5 separate regions of the Homo sapiens genome follow, and all the other regions are linked to region 3. Evidence: promoter capture Hi-C in 16 types of primary human blood cells and fetal thymus (Javierre and others, 2016). All regions are on one chromosome and are shown on one strand. The core of a region is centred on a gene start or on the middle of the fragment in contact, and the rest is flanking DNA. Distances in the headings are between cores, read along the strand shown.

What was found. The method cuts DNA at HindIII sites, captures the fragments that hold promoters and counts their contacts. A CHiCAGO score of 5 or more calls a contact.
Region 1: a fragment that was not itself captured here is called in contact with the fragment with the promoter of GALC in region 3 in 1 of 17 cell types (M0 macrophages); the score reaches 5.7 in M0 macrophages.
Region 2: a contact is called between a fragment that was not itself captured here and the fragment with the promoter of GALC in region 3, in 2 of 17 cell types (total B cells and neutrophils). The highest score is 9.8, in total B cells.
Region 4: a contact is called between a fragment that was not itself captured here and the fragment with the promoter of GALC in region 3, in 5 of 17 cell types (activated CD4 T cells, total CD8 T cells, naive CD4 T cells and 2 more). The highest score is 9.9, in activated CD4 T cells.
Region 5: a fragment that was not itself captured here is called in contact with the fragment with the promoter of GALC in region 3 in 1 of 17 cell types (total B cells); the score reaches 5.8 in total B cells.

The regions. Positions count from the first base shown.
Region 1 is chr14:85,578,396-85,583,173 of GRCh38, forward strand. The region is part of intron 1 of FLRT2 (fibronectin leucine rich transmembrane protein 2); the gene reads left to right. Among named protein-coding and RNA genes, the nearest start is that of FLRT2-AS1, 49 kb to the left of the region's middle. The HindIII fragment of the contact is 1,664 bases long and covers 1,756-3,419 here.
Region 2 is chr14:90,387,106-90,392,017 of GRCh38, forward strand. No RefSeq gene overlaps it. Among named protein-coding and RNA genes, the nearest start is that of CALM1, 7.5 kb to the right of the region's middle. The HindIII fragment of the contact is 3,178 bases long and covers 479-3,656 here.
Region 3 is chr14:87,991,872-87,996,825 of GRCh38, forward strand. It overlaps GALC (galactosylceramidase), which reads right to left and starts at 1,311. Exons shown (of 17, transcript NM_000153.4): 1 at 1,099-1,311. The coding sequence starts at 1,293. It also overlaps the pseudogene RNU6-835P. RefSeq lists a silencer at 979-1,168 and enhancers at 1,124-1,624, 1,319-1,648. The HindIII fragment of the contact is 1,583 bases long and covers 292-1,874 here.
Region 4 is chr14:85,933,332-85,937,939 of GRCh38, forward strand. It overlaps LINC02328 (long intergenic non-protein coding RNA 2328), which reads left to right and starts at 1,347. Exons shown (of 4, transcript NR_110155.1): 1 at 1,347-1,530. RefSeq lists enhancers at 832-881, 1,252-1,461. The HindIII fragment of the contact is 3,745 bases long and covers 1,312-4,608 here.
Region 5 is chr14:90,406,124-90,410,674 of GRCh38, forward strand. CALM1 (calmodulin 1) reads left to right here. Exons shown (of 6, transcript NM_006888.6): 6 at 1-2,145. Among named protein-coding and RNA genes, the nearest start is that of CALM1, 11 kb to the left of the region's middle. The HindIII fragment of the contact is 261 bases long and covers 3,170-3,430 here.

The DNA of each region.
Region 1 (4,778 bases), core at 1,338-3,837, 2.4 Mb before region 3:
TGCAAACATTATTATCAGAAGAGAACAACTTTGTAAGTCTATAATCATTTTGAATACTAATGGCAGCAATAACAATGGTAACTGATGGGTGATAAACCGAGGACGGATGGCTAAGTGCTGTCTCGGAGAAGTCAGCTTATAAATCAGAGGCAGAGCACAGGGAAGGAGGACAGGCCTGACCTCAGGACAAAGCTTTCAACCCTGACACAGGCAAAGAAAATAGTCATCGTAGCATCGTGGGGAGATACGGGTTGAGTGATATAATAAACCTCTTTTAAGGAACTTTCTGATTTTTTCCGCATATTTACTTTACGTACCTCAACCCAGGGGGCATTCTTTCACCAAAGGAGTATTGCTTCAAATTGAATAAATGCACACACAAAAAAATCACAGGCAGCTCTACTGGATGGTGAAATATGGCTGCCTTGTCATGAGAGGAGTTAACTGAGTCTCATTGAGACCTGGATGGCCATCCCTGCTCCTCAAACCAGAAGGCACTCCAAAGGCTGGAGATGTCTTGCAAACTTGGGAAATATTTGAGCAGCAGAAACACATCTCTCCCAGTTGGAGTCTCAACCTTCTGATCCACCCCAGCACCCCTGATAGAAATCAGCTTTGGGAAAACACTTTGAATTCTTGTTTTGAGACGACTGGTGTCTGCAGTGAATCTCTGTTCCTCTCCCACCCTCCCTTCTGGATAAGGTCCTCCTTTCTGCCAGCCCTGTTGGACTTTTGTTTCTCCTTCCCCCGGGAGCTGCCTTTGAAGTCAGTGGGAGCTGTGCAGTGGGCTGGTGAGAGTGGGAGGCTGGAGTGGGGGAACCAGGCCCAGATGCAATCTATGCTGCTTACTGGGATTATGGGTTTCTCCTTCTCCTTCCTTTTTATGTATTTATTTTTATTTTGAAATGTGTGTCTTCTCTTGGCTAAAATAAAGACCGGGGGAATTGGTCTGGCTTTAAAGAACCCTCTGGAGCCAGCTTATTCATACAGAGTTAACTGTGACAAGTAGCCGCCACCAAAGCCACAAGTACCAGGATTTGGAAATTGGACATAAACCCATTTCATTTATGCTTAGGTTATTTGGGAGGGGTGGGGAAGGGCTGGAAAGTGTCGGAAAATTTATAAATGAATCCTGTTGTCCTCTCTTTTCTAGTATCTCGTTTTCCAGCCACTTGGAGCAAATTAATTTGCCTCTCAGAACCCCAATTTTCCGTATCTATAAAATGGAAATAAAATTCTTAGCCCATGGGGTTGTTTTGAAGATGCAAACACTGATATTCTTAAGCACTTTACATAGTTTCTGGTTCATTTTAACTGATTAATAATTTGAATTCTTTGTCATTATCAAGACTGTATTTATGAGATGGCAAGTTTCTACTGAATATGTAATAAGGGCTTACAGGGCAAAAATGACAGGGCTGTCTTTAAAAGCGATGCCACTGGGATACTAGTGAATACTTCTTTGTGAATATATCCACCAATACTCTAGATTGGGTCAGGGGTGGTCATTCCATGCACAGGGTATTAGAATTTTTTTTTTTTTTTTTTTTTTTAAATAAGTGGTTATCCAAAGGGGTTGATGCCTGGGTCATTTGGAGATTTGTCCTTGAACATTCTCCAGTCTGGCTTGGGTTGTCTCAGTTTTGTCACTCAGATTTGCATCTTGTCTTTCTTTCTGTTTTTAGTTGCTTGGATTTCTCCCAAAGTATTTGTGGCTGAAATTCCTTTTGGACTCTGAGCTGCCTTTTTTACATAAGCTTTGGATTGGAATCAATAGAATGTCAAGATGCCAGGCACATTCAGCCTAATAGCAGGTGGGTGTCTGCTGGACAGTGTGCCTGGTTTGCCTGACAGTAGCAAATTTAGGCCAGAATTAATGAGCCAGGGAAGGTACTGTTGGTGTTGCAAGATTTTTGCAGTTTTCAGAAGTAATTTTGTTTTTCCTTTTTAATGGGATTTTCAGAAGTTTTCAGAAGTAATTTTGTTTTTCCTTTTTAATGGGATTACATTTGCAAAAGAAGTTTGTGTTCATATATGTGCGAGTGCATGCATGCCCCTTTATTATAATACCTTTATGATGGCATCGAGGCAATTTATTTTTAGAAAATAGTATTCACACATACCTAAAAATCTGGTTCATAAACCTTAATAGAGTTTCGTTAAAGTTAACGGTTTGTCTTAGTCTGTTTAATGTTCAAAGAGAAGAAAACACCCAAAAGTGGAGTGAATTGCTGAAGTTTCTTGTGTACACTTATTAGGACATATTCCTGCTATATGATGAGCTATCATCAGAAAACAGTCAGCAGAAGCCAGGTCATGTGGGCTGGTGAGGAAAGGAAATGGGTGTAGAGCAAGCGTTCCTGTGTTTCTAGCGGATTGAGAAAAATGCCTGCCTTTTGATTTTCTTTTTCCTCTGGGGTTTTACTTATATATCAAGGAGTAAAAAAAGAAATCCCTCATTTATCTAGGTGCTTTTAAAGAATAAATGTGGAAATGCAAGTAAAGTACCTGGTGTACATCCTAGGCATTCCAAAAATAGTGGCGTTCTGGCTAATCCGAAGAGATTAGATGAGAAGTCCATAGTGATGATTCAGGTTTCTTTCATGTTTTATATATTAGCTGGCCTTTTTGTTTTTCTTATTCTTTATCTTGCAACAGGCATTCGCTTATTTCGGCTTTTAATTTCTAACATAAACTCAACTCTGAAACCCATGCCTTCTAATTGTTGACCACAGATACCCTTGAAATTTGCGCGACCGCCCACAGTGGGATGGTATTAAAACATTCTGATCTAGATTTGGGCAGAGGATGAATAAAATGGAAATGAGGCTTATGCAAATTAGCTTCCCATTTGTTTGAAGATGGTCGAGGGCAGCAGCAGTCCTTGAGTCTTCCAGATTTTAGAACAGAGCAAGCAGTGCTCTGAATGACAAGCCCTTGGCTTCACGTGGCTCATAACAGGATACCACTTACCCCCAGAGAAGACTGACCTCTATATTTAGTGGTCAAAGAAAGGAAAAGAATTGTTGGATGCTACCATTGAGTCCTAGTTCAAACAGTTTAGAAAACTACCACATCTCCACTTCTTGGAGCAATATGGCGGTTGTTCCCTTCCCCTAGGTTCACAGCCTGAGTCTTCGTGGGCCTTCATAGCACAAGTAAAAGAATATTAATGTTAGAAGTTGACTCCAGAATGGAGACTTCCATTTTCTTCTGGAATAAAAGATTAAATTATCTCTATAAAGTAGTAACATTATATACATTCTTACAAAGTTTGTTTTACAGTATTATTTTAAATTTATAGAAATGGATTGTATATAATGAAATTATTTATTTTTATTCAGGGAAAATGTGTATTTATTTATGGGGCTTATGAGATTGGTGCCCCAAAGTTCTTGACCCACGTTTCATTTGAGTAAAGCTTGGTGTAAGGTTTGGAATCATTTTGTAGTGTTATTTCTTAAGATCTTTCCACCCACAGTTAGGACATGTGACACATGTGATTCTATGTCATTTCATTTCAACTTGGGTCTTACTTAGCCTTTGAAAGGATGAAATCCTGACTCTGGTTGACAGCTGTGTCTGTAAACATGAATGCAGTTTGGTATTAACTTTTATCTTTCCATACAGTGAGGGGCATGGAACAGTACCACTAACAATGGGAGGTGCTTACATAATGTTAACTACCACTCTACAATCTGTGTGATATAGGAGGTTGAATCCATATGTAGATCCTGCTCTTAGATCCTGTAGATTGATGGTAAAGCAAAAACAAATGGAGCGTTGATAGAATTCTGTTGAGTAGCCATATGAGCATTATTCTGATACATATGAAATACAACCTTGTGATTATATGATATATGTGTTTGTATATGCATGCAGGGTGTAGTTGTGGTTTGTTTCAATTTAGGAACCTCTGTGAAAGTGACGGAAAGCTTGAATGGAGACCCTAAGGAAGAGGTAGAAATTACTTGTTCAATAACTCTTAGAGGTCTTTTTCAATACTACTAATTGATTGTGATTTGTACTTAGTGTTTGTTTGAGGCATTGTGGCAAAGTGGTCAAGAAGTCTAGAATTAGGCCAGTCAGAGTTTAAATCCTAGCATTTATTAGCATAGATTTTGGGTGCATTATTTATCCTCTCTGGGATCAGTTTCTTCATCTGTGTAATGGGAGTAACTGGAGCATCGACCTTATAATCCTACTGTGTGAATTAAATGAAGACATCTCAAATAAGGTGCCTGGTACGTAGTTAGGCACTCAGTAAACCATAGCTATTGCCATTATAATCATTACTATAATATGTATAATGGGAATAATAATTAGTCTATCTTATGGACTAATATAGTCCTTGTATGGATTACATATCTAGCTGTTTTTATTATTAATTTAGGATGACAGCACCTAATTTTGAGTGTTGTTAAGTAGCGGCTAGCAGAAAGGACCTCATTTTATAAGATTCTGTGTAGGTTGGAGATATATACATATATATCCAACTATATATATATATAGTTTTTACTATATATTTCTATAATTTTCTGCCTCATTGTTTGATTTCACAGCTCTGGAGGTTAAAGCTAAGCTACCTCTCCACTCTCCTGTCCCTGCCCTTATCTAAAATAGAAAGCCATCTGAAAGAAAAGAACCTAGGGAAAATTCCCATGTGAGAAATGAAATTGTCCTTGTGAAGGGTTAGGACTCTAGGAACTGTGTGCAGAAAATCGTTGAAAGATAATCTTTATAGGATGCTGAAAATTACTGGCAGGGATCAACTCTGA
Region 2 (4,912 bases), core at 818-3,317, 2.4 Mb after region 3:
GTTCCTCACAAAATTCACAAGCAAGAATATTTAGAATCATGAAATTCTAAATCTGGGAAGAACCAGAGAAAGTCCATCTGGTCTAACTTTTACATTTTCCAGATAAGAAAACTAAGTCCCGAGAAGGGACTAGTTAGGGAAAGAGCAGGCTTTTAGACTGCTCTTTCCTTTGACCTTTGAAAACATTTTAATCAAAGAACAATCATAATAAGGGGAGTAGAGGAATGTTATCATTCACAGGGCTTCCAAGTGACTGTGGAAAATCTTGGGAGGCTTTGCTTTGGACTTTGTTATCCATTTAGGGACTGGCTGTTCTGAATTGTTCTCTGTGCTAGGCCTTATCTAAACCGCTTGCCTTAAATCTTTGACCTTCATTTAAATTGCTGACACTTTCCCCTTGTGAAACTGTATCATAATTTCTTCTGTCTTCTTTAGGCTAGCAGCATTTCCCTTTCTTATTCCCAGAAGAGCTCAGAGAAGCTTATTTTTTTAGATGAGTGATGCATAAAAAGGAATGTGGCTGCACAATTCTAATTATTTCATAAAGTTCTGAGGTATTTTTAGGGTGTTGCAAAGTGCTAATAAAAAATAATCATATTCATGGACATACAGAGTGGAATAATAGACACTGGAGACTCCACAAAGTGGGAGGGCAGTGAGGGATGAGAAATTACCTGTTGGGTACATCGTATACTACTCAGGTGACAGTCACACTAAAAGCCCAGACTCCACCACTGTGCAATATATACATGTAACAAAAATGTACCCTTTAAATCTATAAAAAATAAATCCTTTCTAGCCCAGTTTGCTAAGGGTTTTTTTTTTCATGAAGAACATTTATAATAAACTCTTTGTTCTGCATAAAAAAGGAATAATGTTTATGTCTTTATTTCCCATTATGTGACTTTTAGGCTGCTTTCTAAAATTTTGATTTCTTTTCTTCAGGTGGTTAAAACAGTATGATTGGACTTGTTTAGAGCATGGTGCTCTTTCACAGAAAGAGAAACTTGTTCCAAGGCTTCAGCAGTATCCTAACCCCCTAACCCAGCTGGCCGTCTAGCAAATATTCACAGCATACAAGTTTCGAAAGTCAGAATGGCTCGGTGGGAGCCTATGGTGTCACCATACGGAACACAGTTTGAAATGTGTGCTCAAACCACGAAGTATTCCCATATGCAAAGGTTCCCACAGGTCTCAATTGAATCTGTATAAAAAATTAAAAAATAAAAATAAAGTTCCCACAGGTACAAAGCGCAGAATACCTTTTCTCAGTTCTTTCCCCTTCTTTAGGACTTGAAAATCAGAAATGCCTCTAGTAGAATCTCCGTGTCAGCAGACCATTTAAAATATGGCTCATATGTTTTGCTGCTATTCAGTTTTAAGGTCATTTCCTAAGTTTCAAACTTTGTGGGAAACAGGTGCAACTGTGAACCTTCGTGTGGCAGGGAAGAGCTGGAGCAGTGAAACATGAAACTACAAATCAGTTCTCTGAGTCACAAATCTCTTGGGCTGCTGTGGAAGACAGTGATGACTCAGCAGAATTGCATGGGACTGGTGGAGGGTGAGGCGGCTGAGGGCTCAGTGCCCTGAGTACCAACCTGTTGGGGGTGCTGCCAAATGATGGGAGACCGAGTTGGATCTTCCCACTGCTGAGCCCTTCCGCAGACTAAGTCAGACCCCCTGACCTGGGTTCTGAATGGATTTCTGACCCACCCATTGCCATTTAGCACAATGATATTTTAAATATTATACGCAACCACATCGTATATTTCCCTAGGGTTTGTTTATTACACTAATGTTACAGATGAGATAGCTGAGTCTGCCTGGCTAAGTGGCCAACGAATCAGCCATTTAACCTAGCAAATGAGATGCAGCAATATGGTCCTCTTCTTGGGAAAAAGCTATTTGCTTTGTCAAAACAATGAAAATAACAAAGCCTTGAGTAACCCTTCATCAAAATAAGACAAATTTTCTGTCTATGCTTTTTGGTTTATGAGAATGAGAATGAGAAGGAAGGTGACACACTGATACTCAGTTGTACAACTTGAAAACACTCCTGAAGGTACATCTTTTCAGTGGCCAAATGATTCAATCATCCCGTTGTGATGCCTGGAGTTGGTTTATTAGCCAATGACTCAGAGCCTCAACTTAGAATGAATAAAACTCAATAAGCATCTTCACTAGATTCAGATGGAGGTGGTTTTTCTGTTCAAAGACAACTTCCCTTTGACCATATTTTCTCCATTATAGGAAGCAGAGGATGGATCCAGTTATGTGAAAGTCTGAAGAAAATTGCCAAAGGATGGGTCAGCCAAGGTATACGCTTGCTCGTGACTGTAGAAGGATACAGGTTGGGATCAAAGCAGGGATAGTTCAGGATGTTCCTCAGGAGGTGTGGCCTCCCACCTTGCTTTCAGAATTAAAGCAAAGGACTTTCTTTTCCTTTTGTATTTTGAGAAATTCACTTTTAATATCCTCTTCAGTCCTGAGAGTGAATTGAGCTCAACACTAATCAATTAAATAGTTGACTGGTGTTTAATGAGTCAAATGCTATGCTGAGTTCAAAAAGTATATCTTGGCTTCTACTACTATCTGGTTGATGTTAGATATATGAAACGATAATATCAGGTAGAAAAGGACAAGAGGGGTAGGAATTCAGCGGAGAGGAAGTTCATTTGGAGTTGTGATAATCAGGAAAGTTTGAAACATGTTGCATTTAAACTGGGCATGAAGGACCCGTAGGATTTAGATAGGTGGTGAGGATATGGATAGGCATTTGGACACTAGGAATGGCATGGAAAAGGCAATGAGTTGAGAGGAGACAATGTATATTCAGGGGACAGAGACGATACTGATTTGTCTGAAGCAAAGAATGTATAGAATAACAAAGGATGGTAATGCTGAAAAAGTAGATTGGCAAACTGTTGAAAGGCATTGGGAGGCATTGAGGGTTTTTGAGCATGGGAGTGACATGATGAAACTGCTGGCAGCTGTGCATTGGATGGATCAGAAGGGGACAAGCTCATTGGGATAGACAAAGATCATGGATGTGCTATTAGAAATTTTGGGATCCTCAACATTCCTGATCCAGGCAAACACAGATACTTCCTTTTTTAAAATTTCTAGAATGGAGCTATCTGATGTAACTTATTGGAATGATGGAAATGTTCCATGCTGCCCAATATGGTAACCACTAGCCATATGGGCCTATTGAGCACTTGAAATGTGGCTATAAAGACTGAGGAACTCAATTTTAAATTTTAATTAAGTTTGATTTAAATAGCCACATGTGATTAGTGACTACTGGATTGGGCAGCACAGCTCTAGAAGGCAGGACAGAGGCTATTTATTGATTGAAAACCAAACCACACAGTTGCCAAATTAGATCTTAAGTCTGTTGGAATTGGTGGGGCCAATTCTTTAATATAACCCACAATCAGCATCAATTTACCTGATTTATCATTATGGTCTGGTTTTCCGTGTATCAAGACCTCAGCAACAGTACCCATTTGTGCCAATCACTGGTTCTGCTCTACAGGCAAACTGAGTCACCCCAAAACCCTGCCATTTCAGTTTATCGCTGTGGCCACATATCCCTCAACTGAATAGCTGTTAAATCATTTGTAAACTGCTAAATGTCTGTTGCTGCGTGGATAAGCTTTAGACCTGTTCTATGGTTTGACCTGCATTCTAGCACATATGTTGAAATATGAAGTTGCTGGTTATCGTTTGGATGCTAATTGAAGTTACTATTGCCCTTGCTTTCGGATTAATGAGGAAAATGATAGTTTAAGAATTTCCAGGCCTGGCTGGACACAGTGGCTCATGCCTGTAATCCTAGCAATTTGGGAGGCCGAGGCGGGTGGATCGCTTGAGCCCAGGAGTTAGAGACCAGTTTGGGCAACATAGCGAGACCCCATCTCTAAAAATAGTAATAATAATAATAAATTAATTAATTAAATTTAAAAAAAGAATCTCCAGGCCAGGCGTGGTGGCTCACTCCTGTAATCCCAGCACTTTGGGAGTCCAAGGCAAGAAGATTATTTGAGCCCGGGAGTTTGAGATTACAGTCAGCTATGATCATGCCATTGTACTCCAGCCTGGGGGACAGAGCGAGACCCTATCTCAGAAAACAAAAAAAGAAAGAAAAAACCCAGCTTGAAGTTAGTGTAAACAACTAAAGCACAAAACTATGATCTTATCCCACTGGACATTTTACTATCTGAATTCACTCACAGTACTTGGTCCCTAAGTCTGTGTAACCATTGCTGGCTGCCTTTGACTTAAGGGCTCAGTTGGTTAAAGCCCAAAGCTGAGGCTCAAGTCATGGGTCCAGTCTCATTAATGGCCAGTTATTTTGCTCTGTTCTTATTCTATATCCCGGACCCCACTTTCTGTGTTGCATATTTATGACGTTGGTCACGAGGGTGGCTTGACCAGAGAGGGAACAGAGGAAGGCAAATCCATCACCACAGCTACTAGCAAAACAAGCACAAATCCTGTGAATGGAGGATAAGATATGTTTTCTCCTATAAAAAGCAAAGTGTTTCAAAATAAAAAAAAAAAACAAGAATGAGGCACTCAAAGCTAGTGAATGGTGCTGTTTGGAAATACTGCACTTCAGACTACTGAGTATACTGGTGACCATCACAAGCTGGAACATACAACAGGACAGTTAGTCTGGCTATGAGTCATTTGAAATCATGGGACACTAGCCGGGTGCGGTGGCTCACGCCTGTAATCCCAGCACTTTGGGAGGCGGAGGCAGGCGGATCACGAGGTCAGGAGATTGAGACCATCCTGGCTAACACGGTGAAACCCCATCTCTACTGAAAATACAAAAAAATTAGCCAGGCATGGTGGCGGGTGCCTGTTGTCCCAGCTACTCAGGAGGCTGAGGCAGGAGAATGGC
Region 3 (4,954 bases), core at 61-2,560:
AAGCTATAAAAAAGATGGGGCCTCACTCCATGAAATATTGGCTGTTTCAGGTTTAGCCCAAAAACATAAAAAGGAGAATAGTAGTAGCAAAGAATAAATGCATTAACTCATCGGCCCACAGGTTTCCCCTGAAATACACATCAGCACGGCTGGAGAGATTGCAAATTAGGGAATGAAAACATAAAAATCAAAAAGGATCAGCTAACTCCAGGGGGAAAAAAATTTCCCCTAGCAGAAGGTTATATCTTGTGGTCACACTACAGACCAGGTCATCCTTGCAGCAGGCATTCAAGCTTGTTCTGAGTTGAATGTAAGGATGCAAGCTCCATCCAACTCAACCCCAAAAATCCGAGTTCAACCTTAACATTTTCAAGAAACATTAGCCCTAGATGTAATTTCGGATACAAAACCAAAAAACAAAAACCTTCTCACCCAAAGGTCGGCCACCATGAAGCCCATGGGCCCAGAGGGAGTACCCGGTAGTTTCAGGCCGCTCGCTTATCTTCCTTTTAAAGAGACCTTGAGGCACCAGTCCTGCCTCCAAACGAAATCCTATTCGGCGCTACCCTCTCTGGAGGAGCCCATTCTTACCCTGCACTAACAACTGCACGGGACTTAACGACTCCACCACCCACCAACTCCTCCAAAAGGGAGAGACACAGCCAAAGCATCCCACTGGGGCGTTCTCTTTCGCACACGGACGCTCCCGCACTCCCTGGCCCTTTCTGGAGCGACGCTCCCCGACTGCCATCTCCGCGATGAAGACAGCCTGTGCCCCACTGCCTGGGACGAGGGTTCCAGCCCCGGCTACTTCACTACTTAGACCTGTCACTTTACTCTCTGCACCTATACTCTCTGGACCTCCGGATCCTCATTTGTTCAAACCTAACTGCCTGTCTGGTTCGTGTTAAACGAGAAAGCACCCGCCCCAGCCCCGCAGCGGGCCCGCCCCAACCGCCTGCTGACTGGCACCCTAGGGGAATGCGGCGGAGAGTGGAGCCGGTGGAAACGCAGGGCAACGCCGCGGGGGCTTGTGGGGCTGGCCCCACGGGGCGGGCTCTTGCCGCCCCCCGCGTATCCCCGCAGCTTGCCGCTCACCCCGCCGCCGCTGACCGCGCCGATGCCGTCGAACTCCCGGCCCAGCCCGTCGGAGTCGTCGAGCACGTACGCGCCGCCGGGCGCCAGCAGCGCACACAGCAGCAAGGGCACCGCGGCGCGGCCCGCCGAACCCGCGGCCGCAGTCATAGCTTTCGCTCGGCGTTGCCAGGAAGCCGAGAGTAGCCACTCAGCCATTGTGTGGGTCACATGACTCCGGCGCCCAGGGAGGCGGGTCCCGTCGCCGCCACGATAGATACGGGCAGGAGGCCGCTGATGCTGACGCCGCCGCCGCCATTTTGAGTGCGGGTCAAGGGCCTCTGACGCAGCTGGCGGAGTGTTGAGAAAAGAAGCAGCGAGCTTTTTCTTATCGCTCGCGTGTCTGTGGTCAGCTACTGGATTTCACATGTACTTACTGCTGGCTTCTCTTCCGGCGTCACCTGGTGGAGCACTTTAACGCAGGGAAGGTGGATTCCAAGGTCCGCCAAAGGAAGAGGGCCATGAGTGGCCCTACCATGGCTCTTCCCCAGCATCTCAGGGAGTATCTACCTCGTGCGAGGACCAGGCTTGGACACCAGGTCCCGATTCCATTGTCATCTTGGTGGAATCACTTTGCTTTTGGAGCCTGAGTTTTCCCTTATGTGAGATGAGGCGAGAAGAGCAGCAGAGTGAGGGACTGAGAGAAAAGTTAATAAGCACTCAGTACATTTGAATGCATTCCACAAGTGGCAAATAGCTGAGAAGGTTCTCCAGTCTGGTAACTACCCCGGCATATTCAAAGCTTTTAGCCTTGAAGGAGTTAATAATATACCACCTCAAAATATGCTGCTGTGGCATATTGACTATTTTAAATTAAAGGCACTTAAAAACAGCAGGTGCAAGATCACTGTCATGGATATTATGTGTCTTAAAAGGAGGAGATGAAATTCCCATGTGAAAGATGTCTTCCCTATAAAATAACATTGTTATCTTCAAGGACAGAAAGTTGAAGTCGAGGGAAATCTGTCCAAACAAAATTTGTTAATCCCTATCTTTCTAGTCGCTTCTTTACCCCAAGCCCCTTCGCCTTATCATGTTTCACAACTACTATTTTTTGTCCATTTCACTCTATAAGCAATTGGCTCTTAACTGCTGCTTTAGGTCTTTTTTTTTTTTAATGAGGGCCCCCGTGCTATGTAAAATAAACATTTGTGTGGTTGTCTCCTGTCAGTCTATTAATATCTTAAATCAATTTAATACTAGGGCCATGCTGGGACCCTACAGGGACGAAGGTGAAATTTTGCCTCCCCTACAATTTTATAAACTATCTTCCACTGTCAGTTGAAGTGATTCCAGACAGGTAACTCTAAATTGGTAGGAAAGTTGTGAATTGCCCTGAATTTCTGCCACATCCAGCACTGTCCTGAGATTTCTGATTTCCTTGTTATTGAAGTAAATTAAAGAGACTCTGAAGAGCTGCAGAGAAAGATTTTCTGATCCCCAAATTTCTCTTAGCAGAAGTATGGAACTGGTTATCATTGCCTACACAAGCCCCTGAGATACCACAATGGCAAGGAAAAGACCCAGAGACTTTAGGACCTGTGGGATTTGTCTGCAGAACCCTATTTGGAATCTGATTATTTTGCCCCTTAACCACAAACCTAAATCTAAGTTTCAAGAACTCAATTATACTTGAAGGTCAAAGCTCTGGGCAATCCAATAAATATGCACATTAAGAACCCGATATCCCTGGGTTCTTAATGTACATTAGATATGTTTGTTCTTTCTTTCTTTTTGAATTGACTCTACGTCTATCCTGGTTTACTAAGGACAGTCACAACTTTTGTCTAAACATAATTACTGATAATGCTCCTTTCACCCTCAGTAGTCTTCTGGCTTGGATCAGTTAAATAGTCCCCTGTGTATGAACCACTTATTTTCTTTGGTTTCTTCTTTCCCCAGTACAACACGAATCTGAACTCTCTGCCTTGCCACTGCAACCAGTTTATGATGCAAGTCAGTAATTTTCAGTTCTGTGGATTTACTGTTACAGAATTCACTCTGATCCATTTGTTCTAACACAGTATTTTAAGCATGAGCTGGAGCTCCTGTGGATACAAGCCACAGTAACCATTCCATCAAGTGAATGTTAAGCTTCTCTTACCAGCTCTTAACAAGCGCATAAGACCCACTTAATACCGTGACTAGATGGGAAATACCAAGGTGATGACAGAGGAAACTACCTTACACATAAAACTAGGAAGTTGCATGACGATGTATGAATACCCAGCATACACCATCCTGTAGTACGTCATTGTGAAACGGGTCAGTGGTCAGTGGTCTCGTTGTCTGAGGTGTTATCCAAGCTTGTTGTCTCACAACCAAGAGAATTAAGGAGTGTGGACACCAGAGTGAGGTTGAAGAGAAAGTTTATTATATGAAAGAAGAAAGCTTTCTTTCTTTGCCATTTTGCCACTTTTACAGTTGAATCCAAAAGCTTTTATAAGAAACTCCTCTCATCTCTGTAGCTGTTTGTGTAACTTACTTGTAAAGCTATCTGTGCAGCTCCCCTTATCTGTGCAGCTGTGGGTATGTCTTGGGTAAGGATAAAGTTCAGCTTCTCTTGTTTGTGTAACTGTGGGTTCTAGGTAATCACCCTCTCCACCCCCATGCAAGTTCCCACAGAGCCCACCATGTATGTGCCTGAAAAGGGGAAGAAACTTTTTCCTGGGAACCTGCTAATCACACAAAGAACAAAAGGCTTCTATGTTGGGCCTTCCTTTCTTATCAGGGCAGCTGTTGCCTGAGTTTTCCCCAGGCCACTCTATGTGTGCCTGTAGCTTGATTTTTCAGGCTGTCTTTCTGTTTAAAAGAATTTTACCAAAGACCAACTTTAGCTGTCTGCCCAACTAAGTTTTCCCTTTTCTCGTCCCTCAATTGCACCTTGTAGTTGGAATGCACGCCACAAATATTTGAGCAATGTGTGAAGTCTACAAAAGAGGAAGCATAAACTCTAATGGAAAAGGTAGCCTCACTTCCAGGAAGTCCCAGTAGTTCCTATTAGTTCAGTTACCAAAGAAATTGCTTACCAGATAAATATTTTTTGTTTCTAATTTCTGATCTATATTCATGAGAGCAGACATGAGGTAAGAAAGTTTCTAATAAAAGGCCAATAAATACATGCTGACAGAAATCCTTGGAGTGCTGGGCACGGCACTCAAATGTGCTCAAGATGTGAGATAAAGAAAAATGACAGTTACCCCACGAGTGATCATATGCTTAGCTTCCCTTGCGTCTGTGGATCAGGGTCAGTGAGATAAGACGGTAAGAAAGGAAGGTCCCAGTTTTCAGATTTTAAATGAGTTTAAAAAGTAATGACAGTGTTTCTCTCTCTGTCTTTTTAATCTGAAACACTTCAAGAATTTGCATGTCATCCTTGCTCAGAGGCCACACTGATCTCTGTAACATTCCAGTGTTTGTAAATGTGCTGCCAAAGGAAACACGATGATTTTTCTCTTAAATAACAGGTGTTTCTAAGTATCACAACTATACTTCAGCCACCCCAAATCTCTCCTTTTTCTAAATAAAATAATGTGATCAAAATCAAATAGTCTCTTGAGAAGGATCAGAGATCTTGCCTTTTAATGAAAATTTATTGATAAACTCTAATAGCAGTCTGGATTTTTTTTTTTATTTCCCCAAGACTATCATAAAACGGTATGATAGCAGTCTGTTGTCTCACTTCAGGAAAAGGCTTTACTTTTATAAATCAGTCCACCTCCCCTTCAGTCTACCATTGATGGGCATTTAGGTTGATTCCATGTTTTTGCTATTAGGCTGTCAGAAATTCCAGGGCAGAGGCCAAGTTTATTTCTTCTTT
Region 4 (4,608 bases), core at 1,934-4,433, 2.1 Mb before region 3:
CAGTATCTGCTTCTGAGGCCGGGAGATAGAATCCCTGAGTTCATTATTTTCTTTCATCACTTTTTCCACTGAACTTAGGAGCAACCAACCAGCTTCATTATGTTCCTTGGTTCTCCACATATGGTCAAAGGTATTACATGTAGAGTCACTAAAATCCTTGCCTCTCAGGAGCGATGAATCAGGAGTGTCAAATGCATTTATTTTGCATATTTCTCGAACAGTTCATGCCAAGGATTATCAGTGTTCTCCATGCTATTAGAAGTAGAGTTCTTAGCATTTTTGGCGTCTAATATTAAGCAGCCAACACCAGAAATTCCAAAACCAATGAAAGAACTACATCCTTAATATTCTGTTCCTCTAGAAGACCACTTCTGGTACCAACATCTGTATCAGGGTTCTCTAGAGGGAAAGAACTAATGGAACACACATATATACATAAAGGGGAGTTTATTAAGTATTAACTCACACAATCACAAGGTTCCACAATAGGCTGTCTGCAGGCTGAAGAGTAAGAAGAGCCAGTCTGAGTTCCAAAACTGAAGAACTTGGAGTCGGATGTTCCAGGGCAGGAAGCATCCAGCACAAGAGAAAGATGTAGGCTGGGAGACTAGGCCAGTCTCTCTTTTCCATTTTTCTGCCTGCTTATATTCTAGCCACCTGGCAGCTGATTAGATTGTGCCACCCAGATTAAGGGTGGGTCTGCCTTTCCCAGCCCACTAACTCAAATGTTAATCTCCTTTGGGAACACCCTCACAGACACACCCAGGATCAATACTTTGTATCCTTCAATCCAGTCAAATTGACACTCAGTATTAACCATCACATATGTCTTTGCTATTGTGAGTAGTGTGGCAATGTACATACAATAGCATGTGTTTTTTCCAGTATGATGACCTAAATTCCTTTCGTTATATACCCAGTAATGGTGAGGGACTAAGTGGCTAAGTTGGCTGGACTTCCTGGGTCAATAGGGACTTCCCTAAGGGGACTATCCCCTAAACCCAAATAAGTCACAGCTGCAAGCTAAGGGATTTAAACTTCAACCAATCAAAGGGGACTTTCCCCTAAGCCAAAATGAGTCACAGCTGCAAGCTAAGGGATTGAAACTTCAACCAATCATATAGGGAGTTTAAGGTCTAGCTACAGCCTGATGTTTTTAACCAATCAGGCCCATCAACCCACAAGTGGGTTGAAAATAAGCTAATTGTATAGGACAGAAAAAGGAAAAGGGGAGGGGTCATAAGGCGATATAAGCATAAGACACCCAAGCCAGAAACAGCAACCCTTCTGGGTCCCCTTCCACCACGCAGAAGCTTTACTTTCGCTTTCACTTTACTTTTGCTTTCACTTTAACAAATCTTGCAGCCGCACACTCTTTGGGTCCGCCCGTTTCTCTAATCAAGTTGTAACACTCGCTGCTGTGGTCCACAGCTTCATTCCTTGAAGCCCGTGAGACACGAACGCTTCCATTGAGAAAAACCTTCCATCAGAAGAAGACTTCTCGTCTCAGTGGGACTGCTGAGTTGAATGGTACCTCTGTTTTAAGTTCTCTGAAAAGTCTCCAAACTGCTTTTTATAGTGGCTGAACTAATTTTCATTCTCACCAACAGTGTATAAATGTTCCTTTTTCTCTAGACTCGCCAGCATATGTTGTTTTTTGACTGTAGAGTAATAGCCATTGTAACTGGTTTAAGATGATATAGCATTGTGGTTTTGATTTGCATTTCCCTGATGATTAGTGATGACAAGCATTCTTTCATGTTCGTTGGCCGCTTGTATGTCTTCTTTTAAGAAGTGTCTGTACATGTCCTTTGCCCATTTTTTAATGTATTCTGTTTTTTGCTTGTTGTAAGTTCCTTACAGATTCTGGATATTAGGCATTTGTTGGATGCATAGTTTGCAAATATTTTCTCACATTCTGTAGGTTTTCTGTTTACTCTATTGGTAGTTTCTTTTGCTGTGCAGCAGCTCTTTAATTAGGTCCCACTTGTCAATTTTTGTTTTTGCTGCAATTGTTTTTGGGGACTTAGCCAAATTTTCTTTGCCAAGGCCAGTGTTGAGAAGGATATTTCCTAGGATTTTTATAGTTTGAGAGCGTACATTTGAGTCTTTAATTCATCCTCAGTTAATTTTTGTATCTGGTGAAAGGTAGGGATCCAGTTTCAATCTTCTGCATACTAACCAGTTATCCCAGCACCATTTATTGAATAGAGTGTCCTTTCCTTGTTGCTTGTTTTTGTTGGCCTTGTTGAAGATTGGATGGTTGTATAGTCACAGTTTACCTTGTATCTGGGATCTCCTAACCTCCTAAATAATTTTTTAAAAATTTTCATACATTACGGTTAAGTTTTTGTGCTCTAGACTTTTATGGGTTTTGATAAATGCATAATATCATCTATCCACCATTGCAGTATCATACAGAATAGTTTCACCACTCTAGGCAATCTCTTGTGCTTCACCTACTCAAATCTGTGTCTGTGAACCTCTAGAAACCACTGATATCTTTATTTTCTTTATTTTTTCATTTTTAGAGACAGGGTCTTGCTTCGTTTCCCAGTCTGGAGTGCAGTGGCACCATATATATGGCTCACTGCCACCTTTACTTCCTGGGCTCAAAGGATCCTCCTGCCTCAGCCTCCCAAGTAGCTGGGACTACAGGTGTGCACCACCATGCCCAGCTAATTTTTAATTTTTTTTGTAGAGCCAGGGTCTTGCCATCTTGCCCAGGCTGCTTTCAAATGATATCTTTACCCTCTCTATAAGTTTGCTTTTTCCAGAATGTAATATAATCATGCAGTATGCAGCAGTCCTTTCATGCTGGCTTCTTTCATTTAGCAATACACATTTAAGAATCATCTATGTCCTTGTACAGCTTGATAGCTCATTCTTTCCTATCTCTGAATAGTATTTCATTGTATGGATATACCAGAGTTTATTCATTTCTGTGTTGAAGAACATCTTGATAGCTTTCAGTTTTTGGTGATAATTTTATAAAATTCTATAAACATTCATGTGAAAGTTTTCTGTAGTTAAAATTTCTCAAATCATCTAGGTAAATATCTAAGAACCCAGCTGCTGGATTACAAGGTAAAAATATGTTTAGCTTTGTTAGAAACTGCTAAGTTATCCATCAGAGTGGTTGTACCATTCTGCATTTTCTCCGGTGATGAATGAGAGTTCTTGTTGCTCCTCATCCTAACCAGTATTTAGTATTAGCATATTTTGGTTTTTAGCCCTCTTAATACATGTACAATGTTATCTCATTATTATTTTAATTTTTATATACCTAATGACAACCAATGTTGAGCATCTTTACATGTACTTATTTGCCATATATATGGTGGTATCTGTTTAGAACTTTTGCTTACTTTTTAATTGAGTTGTATTTTATTCTTGAGTTTTAAGCATCACTCTGTATATTTTGGATGTATTATTTTTATTTTTTCTATCTTTTTTTTTTTTTTACCAGATATGTGTTTCACAAATATTTTTTTCTCATTCTATGGCTTGTCCTTTAACTCTCTTAATATTTCTCAAAGAGCAGATGTTTATAATTCTAATAAAGTCTTACTTTTTTTTCATGTATTGTGCTTTTGGTGCTGTATTTAAAAACTCATCGACAAATCTAAGATTCCATAGATTTTCTCTTTTCTTTTTCTTTTAGATGTTTTATAGTTTTTCATTTTAAAGTTAGGTACTTGATCAATTTCAACTTAATTTTTGTGAAAGCTGTAGAATATGTGCTAGGTTCTTTTTGTTTTAATTTGAGTATCCAATTGTTTCAGCACTATTTGTTTAAAATGTCAACATTTGCTTCATCGACTTGACTTTGAATCTTTGGGAAAAATGGAAACTACCATTGCAAAATTATAACTGAGACAGTGAAAGATATTTGACCTAACCAACTCCATTTTCTTCTAACCTCCAAGCTGTCCTTGTTCATTCCTCGGTGTAGGCTGAACTAACTTTGGGAGGAACTTAGTTTATAGTTTAAAACAAAAACAATAACAGCCCTTTCCCCAGACAAACCTCCTTCTTGCCTGGGGACTAGACTGCCTTTGTAGGACTAACAAATTAGCCACAAGATTAGAAATTATGGGCTGGGTGCGGTGGCTCATGCCTGTAATCCCAGCACTTTGGGAGGCCAGGCGGGTGGATCATGAGGTCAGGAGATCGAGACCACCCTGGCTAACATGGTGAAACCCCATCTCTACTAAAAATACAAAAAAAAAAAAAAATTAGCCGGGTGTGGCGGCAGGCACCTGTAGTCCCAGCTACTCGGGAGGCTGAGACAGGAGAATGGTGTGAACCCAGGAGGTGGAGCTTGTGGTGAGCCAAGATCGTGCCACTGCACTCCAGCCTGGGCGACAGAGTGAGACTTGGTCTCAGAAAAAAAAAAAAAAAAAAAAACAAAAAAACCCTAATCTGCTCTTAAGATCAGTGATTGAGATAAATTTGCAGACCCTCCCCTTGATGGATCAGCTGGCACCACCCAGATCAATTAACTGGCTCATCTGATCTTGTGGCTCCAGCCAGGAACTGACTTGGCCCAAGAGGACAGCTTCAATTCCCTATGATTTTATCCCCTTCCTGACCAATCAGCACTCT
Region 5 (4,551 bases), core at 2,050-4,549, 2.4 Mb after region 3:
ATTATACTTAGCCTCCTCCTCCTTTTTTTTTTTTTCCCAAGTTGACTTGACTTTGCTTTTTTCCCCCCAAGTAGAACTAATGCTAGCTTCCAGCTTGAAAGTAAAACTCCAGTGTGGAGTGAATTTTGTGTCTAATTATAAACCTGTAACCAAAACTCAGACATCTGGTACTGGTCTTTGCATTGAGATTGGTCCCTGTAAAACCCCCTTTAAAAGCATATTGCATTTAGTACAGAGCTCTTTTTTGAAATGAAGGCTGGAGATGTGCATTTTTCACGGTGTTAACTGGTTGTATCTTATTAGCAAGGAGATTGGGGTTTTGAGTGTTTGCGTGGGTGGTTTCAATTTGCCAGGGAACAGTGGCAGGCTGCTAGCAAGGCAGTGAGAAGCTCTTGGCAGCCAAATGGGTGCATTCAGGGCTGATTTATAGAGACCCTTGGCTTCTCCTTCTCCTACTCCCTGTCTTTCTGGCATTTTGTAGCTTGTTAGATTTTCTGCCAGAGGGGTGGGTCAGAGCAGTGGAGGGGAGACATCGCCCATGTGCTTCTGCTACTGGTCCTTGGGCTGGGTGGTTGGTAGAGGAGATGTTGACACTATGAGCTAAGGGTTGGCTTTTGTAATTACCTGAATCTGAAAGGAATGCCTAAGGTTACCTTGGGGTTTCTCTTCTGGTGAGATAGGGTTCCTGGTTTGAGTAAGTTAATGTCCTGGATATTTCTTGTGGCAGGGGGTGGTCAAAGAGCCTGATTGCTGACCCAGTCTCAGGCCTGTGGTCGATGACCTCTCGGTAGTTTCAAAGGGGGCTGGAGGGGGATATTTGACTTGTTTTTTCGAAATGTAGCCTTCTAACCCTCAAGTCTTTAGAAGCTGGGTGGACTCTTAGTGGTCCTGCAGCGTATCCTAAAAGACTACCTTTGAAACAGGATTCTTGTATGGCCAGGATCCTGTCTGGGAACCAGAAACCCTACACCCTCCCCCTCCAGGGAATGCTGAGTTCCAGTTTTGAGCAGAGGTGAGGCAGAATCCACTGTAGCCTTCCGCCCTGGTATTTGGGGGGATGACCAGCCCAGGCGTTGGGTGTTAGTCTGCATGAGTTTGTGAGAGGAAATAGCTGGGTGTCCTGGCAGTGCCCTTGAAGTTGGTTAGGACCTTCCTGTAAACTCTTGCCCCTACTTCTAACTACTCTATAAATATATACATATATTTATATATAAAGTGATTAGTTGAACTGGCATCCTGCTTTAGCCTGAGACTTGCCATAAGAAACTGCTGAGTACTTGGCAAACCCTTTCATAGTTTTGTTCTCCATCTGTTTGGGGTAGGTGTTGAGCGAGGCAAATGGATCTCGATATTTCAGATGGGCTTTTGATGCACTGTTGCCAAGGAAGGCTTTTTCTGATTTTTTGACAAATGAATTTTTGCACACTTTCATTGGTGTCTTTCGGCAACTTACACACATTGAAAATGAGCTATTGTACATATTTTTATATTCTCTTTATAAATGCATGTCTGATTGTACTTGTAACAATATTGTAATGAACGGCTGTGCAGTAGGCCCAGCGCTGCTGTGTCTCGTCAGAGGAATAGCTTACCACGAACCCCTCAGCATACTGGGAATCTCTTCCTGAACAACGAATGTAAATTTGGTCAAGTCTACTCTTCCGTTCATTCAATTATTTTAAGCATTTGAATTATTTATTGTATATCCTAAATATATTTCTCCTTTGGCAGTGACTAGATTTCCACTAATGTGTCTTAATCTATCCCTCCAGCTGGCAGTTACTGTTTTTTTAATCCCCTGAAGTTGTCCTGTAGGAGACAGAAATTCTTTGCTGTCTGTATCCCTTGGAGTAAGAAGGTAGTGGCATGGGTGGAGTGTGTGTTCTTTCTCCAAATCTATTATGATGTTTATTAAACACTTCTGTAGCAAAGATGGTGGTAGTTCTTTTGTTACTGAAGTTGCCCTTCACCATGGCTATTTGAAAAGGAGATGTACTTGGACGTTTCTGTAAATCTTGAGATAAACTGTTTGGAGATTTAACCACCTCTCTGATGGGGGACCAACTCTATGGAAATTGTAAATACGTTTTATTTATAAACCTGGCACTGTATTCAATAAACATTTCTGCAGCCTTTCATCTCTAACTGCGAACTGTGTAGGTTTCTAGCTTGCATAGCTTTCAATTCCTTTTGCTCTCAACAAGATAGACCTGCCCTCAGATGTAATTTCACTGGGTCTCTAGTACTGTGAGAGTGAGGGGCCAGAAATAACCGTAGACACATCCCACAACCGTCTTACCCTAGTTTTAAGTAGTTTGAGTGTTAATAGCTGACATTTTAACCTATTCTCTTAGCCTATTAACTTGTCCATGCTTGCTTTTTATGCGGAAAATTTACACCATAAGGATTAGTTTCCTTTTAACCCCAATCCAAGCCTCTTTAGGACTTGTATAAAGAAATACATTTTTTTCAATAAGATGGGAATTTTAGATGACAACCAAGATGATACCTTGGTTCATGTCAAGAGCGGGACAGCTGAGGAAAGTGGGGTGGGATGCAAGTACAATTTAGGACCTTGGCATTGAAGCCTTCCCCTTAGTCAACACTGGCCCAGACCCTGGTTCTTAGATGTAGCAGGAGAGGCTGCCTGCTTCTGCCCCCTTTGCTTCCAGAAAGGCCTTTTCCAGCTGCCTCGTGTGTTTCCCACTCTGCCCAGAAGGAGTGAGAGGGCTGAAAAGCGGGGCGGGATAAGGCCCTGCTTTCGACAGAAGGCTTGAGACACATCTCCAGAAAGCATTTAAAGAGCCCCTCCTGCACATAGGAGCTGGGACTATAAGGACATGGTCATCACCGTGGAGACGGCCCTCTGCTCTGAGGCTTTAGACCTGGCTTCTGGATTTGGTTCTGTCCCTCCAGCCTCAGGCAGGTTCTTTACCTTTCCCAGGCCTTGGTATCCTCCTTGGTAAGATCATATTGGACTTGGTACCTTCTGCCTGTGGCTTTCTAGGATTATGACCGACCTGGTTTGGCATCACTTTGTGTTTAGATAGATGAAATTGCAGCCTAAAGGATGGGAGGCAAAATTGTGTAGGAGTGCTGTGTCCTTTGAGATGACAAATGGGATTTAAAAATTCTCACCAGCTTCATGTTGGAGGTGGAGTGGAGGTTAAGCTTGCTATTAAGACGTGATGTAATATTGGAACCTGGGTCAGAGAAACTGATTGTTAAGTGACTTCCATTCTCCCAGGACGGAAATAGGAGGCTACCACTGGGCCTGTAAGGGATTCAGTCCAAGTGACATCATCTGGTTTTCAGCAGCTCCGGTTTAGAAAAACACACACACATTTCCGATTCAAGCTGAACTTTCCCGGGCACTGGGGGGCTGGAGCACCCAATGACTCAGGATGCCTTAGAAGGAAATAAAACATAAAGCTTTTTATAGCTTGGTGCTTCTCTCCCACTGCCCTCAACTCTCTGCCAAGGAGTGGGAGGAGTTAGCTCATGGACCAGAACTCCCATTAAAGCCCCTGAACTCTGATTAAATCAAGTGGCAGTTTTCCTCATGAGAATTATGTTCTTTGTGTCAGGAACCTTAGGAATGAGTGTGAATTGACACATTCAGATTGTGGGGTTTTTTTTTTCTCTTTTGAGGTGGGGTCTCATTCTCACTCAGGCTGGAGTGCAGTGGCACAATCACAGCTCACTGCAGCCTCCACCTCCCAGGTTCAAATGATCCTCCCACCTCAGCCCCCCCAGTAGCTGGGACTACAGGGATGTGCTGCTGTGCTCAGCTAATTTTTAAATTTTTTTATGCAGACGCGGTTTCACATGTTGCTTAGGCTGGTCTCAAACTCCTGGGCTCAACAAATCCTCCCACCTTGGCCTCCCAAAGTGTTGGGATTACAAGTGTGAGCCACTGTGCCTTGGCTCAGATAATTTTTTTTTTTTTTTTTTTTTTTTTTTGAGACAGAGTCTTGCTCTGTCACTCAGGCTGGAGTGCAGTGGTGTGATCTTGGCTCACTGCAACCTTCGCCTCCTGGGTTCAAGCAATTCTCCTGCCTCAGCCTCCTGAGTAGCTGGGACTACAGGCGCACACCACCACGTCTGGCTAATTTTTGTATTTTTAATAGAGACGGAGTTTCACTATGTTGGCGAGGCTGGTTTTGAACTCCTGACCTCAGGTCATCTGTCCGCCTTGGCCTCCCAAAGTGCTGGGATTATAGGCATGAGTCACTGTACCCAGCCCCAGATAGTCTTTTCAATATCATATCTTAGTTTTATTTTCAGTTTTACAAAGGCTAAAAGGAAAATCCAGAGTTTCCTCTAGCAATATAATTATTTGAACATTTTGTTACAACAAGATCTTTAGATCCTGGCTGTATGTAAGCATGTTTGCTTTTAAACTGATTTTTCATTTTGAGTCTTTGTATACCCTTCAAGTTGTGATTTTTTTTAAGTTACTGCATTTTTTAGCAAAAGATAGATTTTTTCCTGCATAGACATATCAGAATCAAGATTTGAGATAGATTGTTTTAAAAATGGAAAATAAGT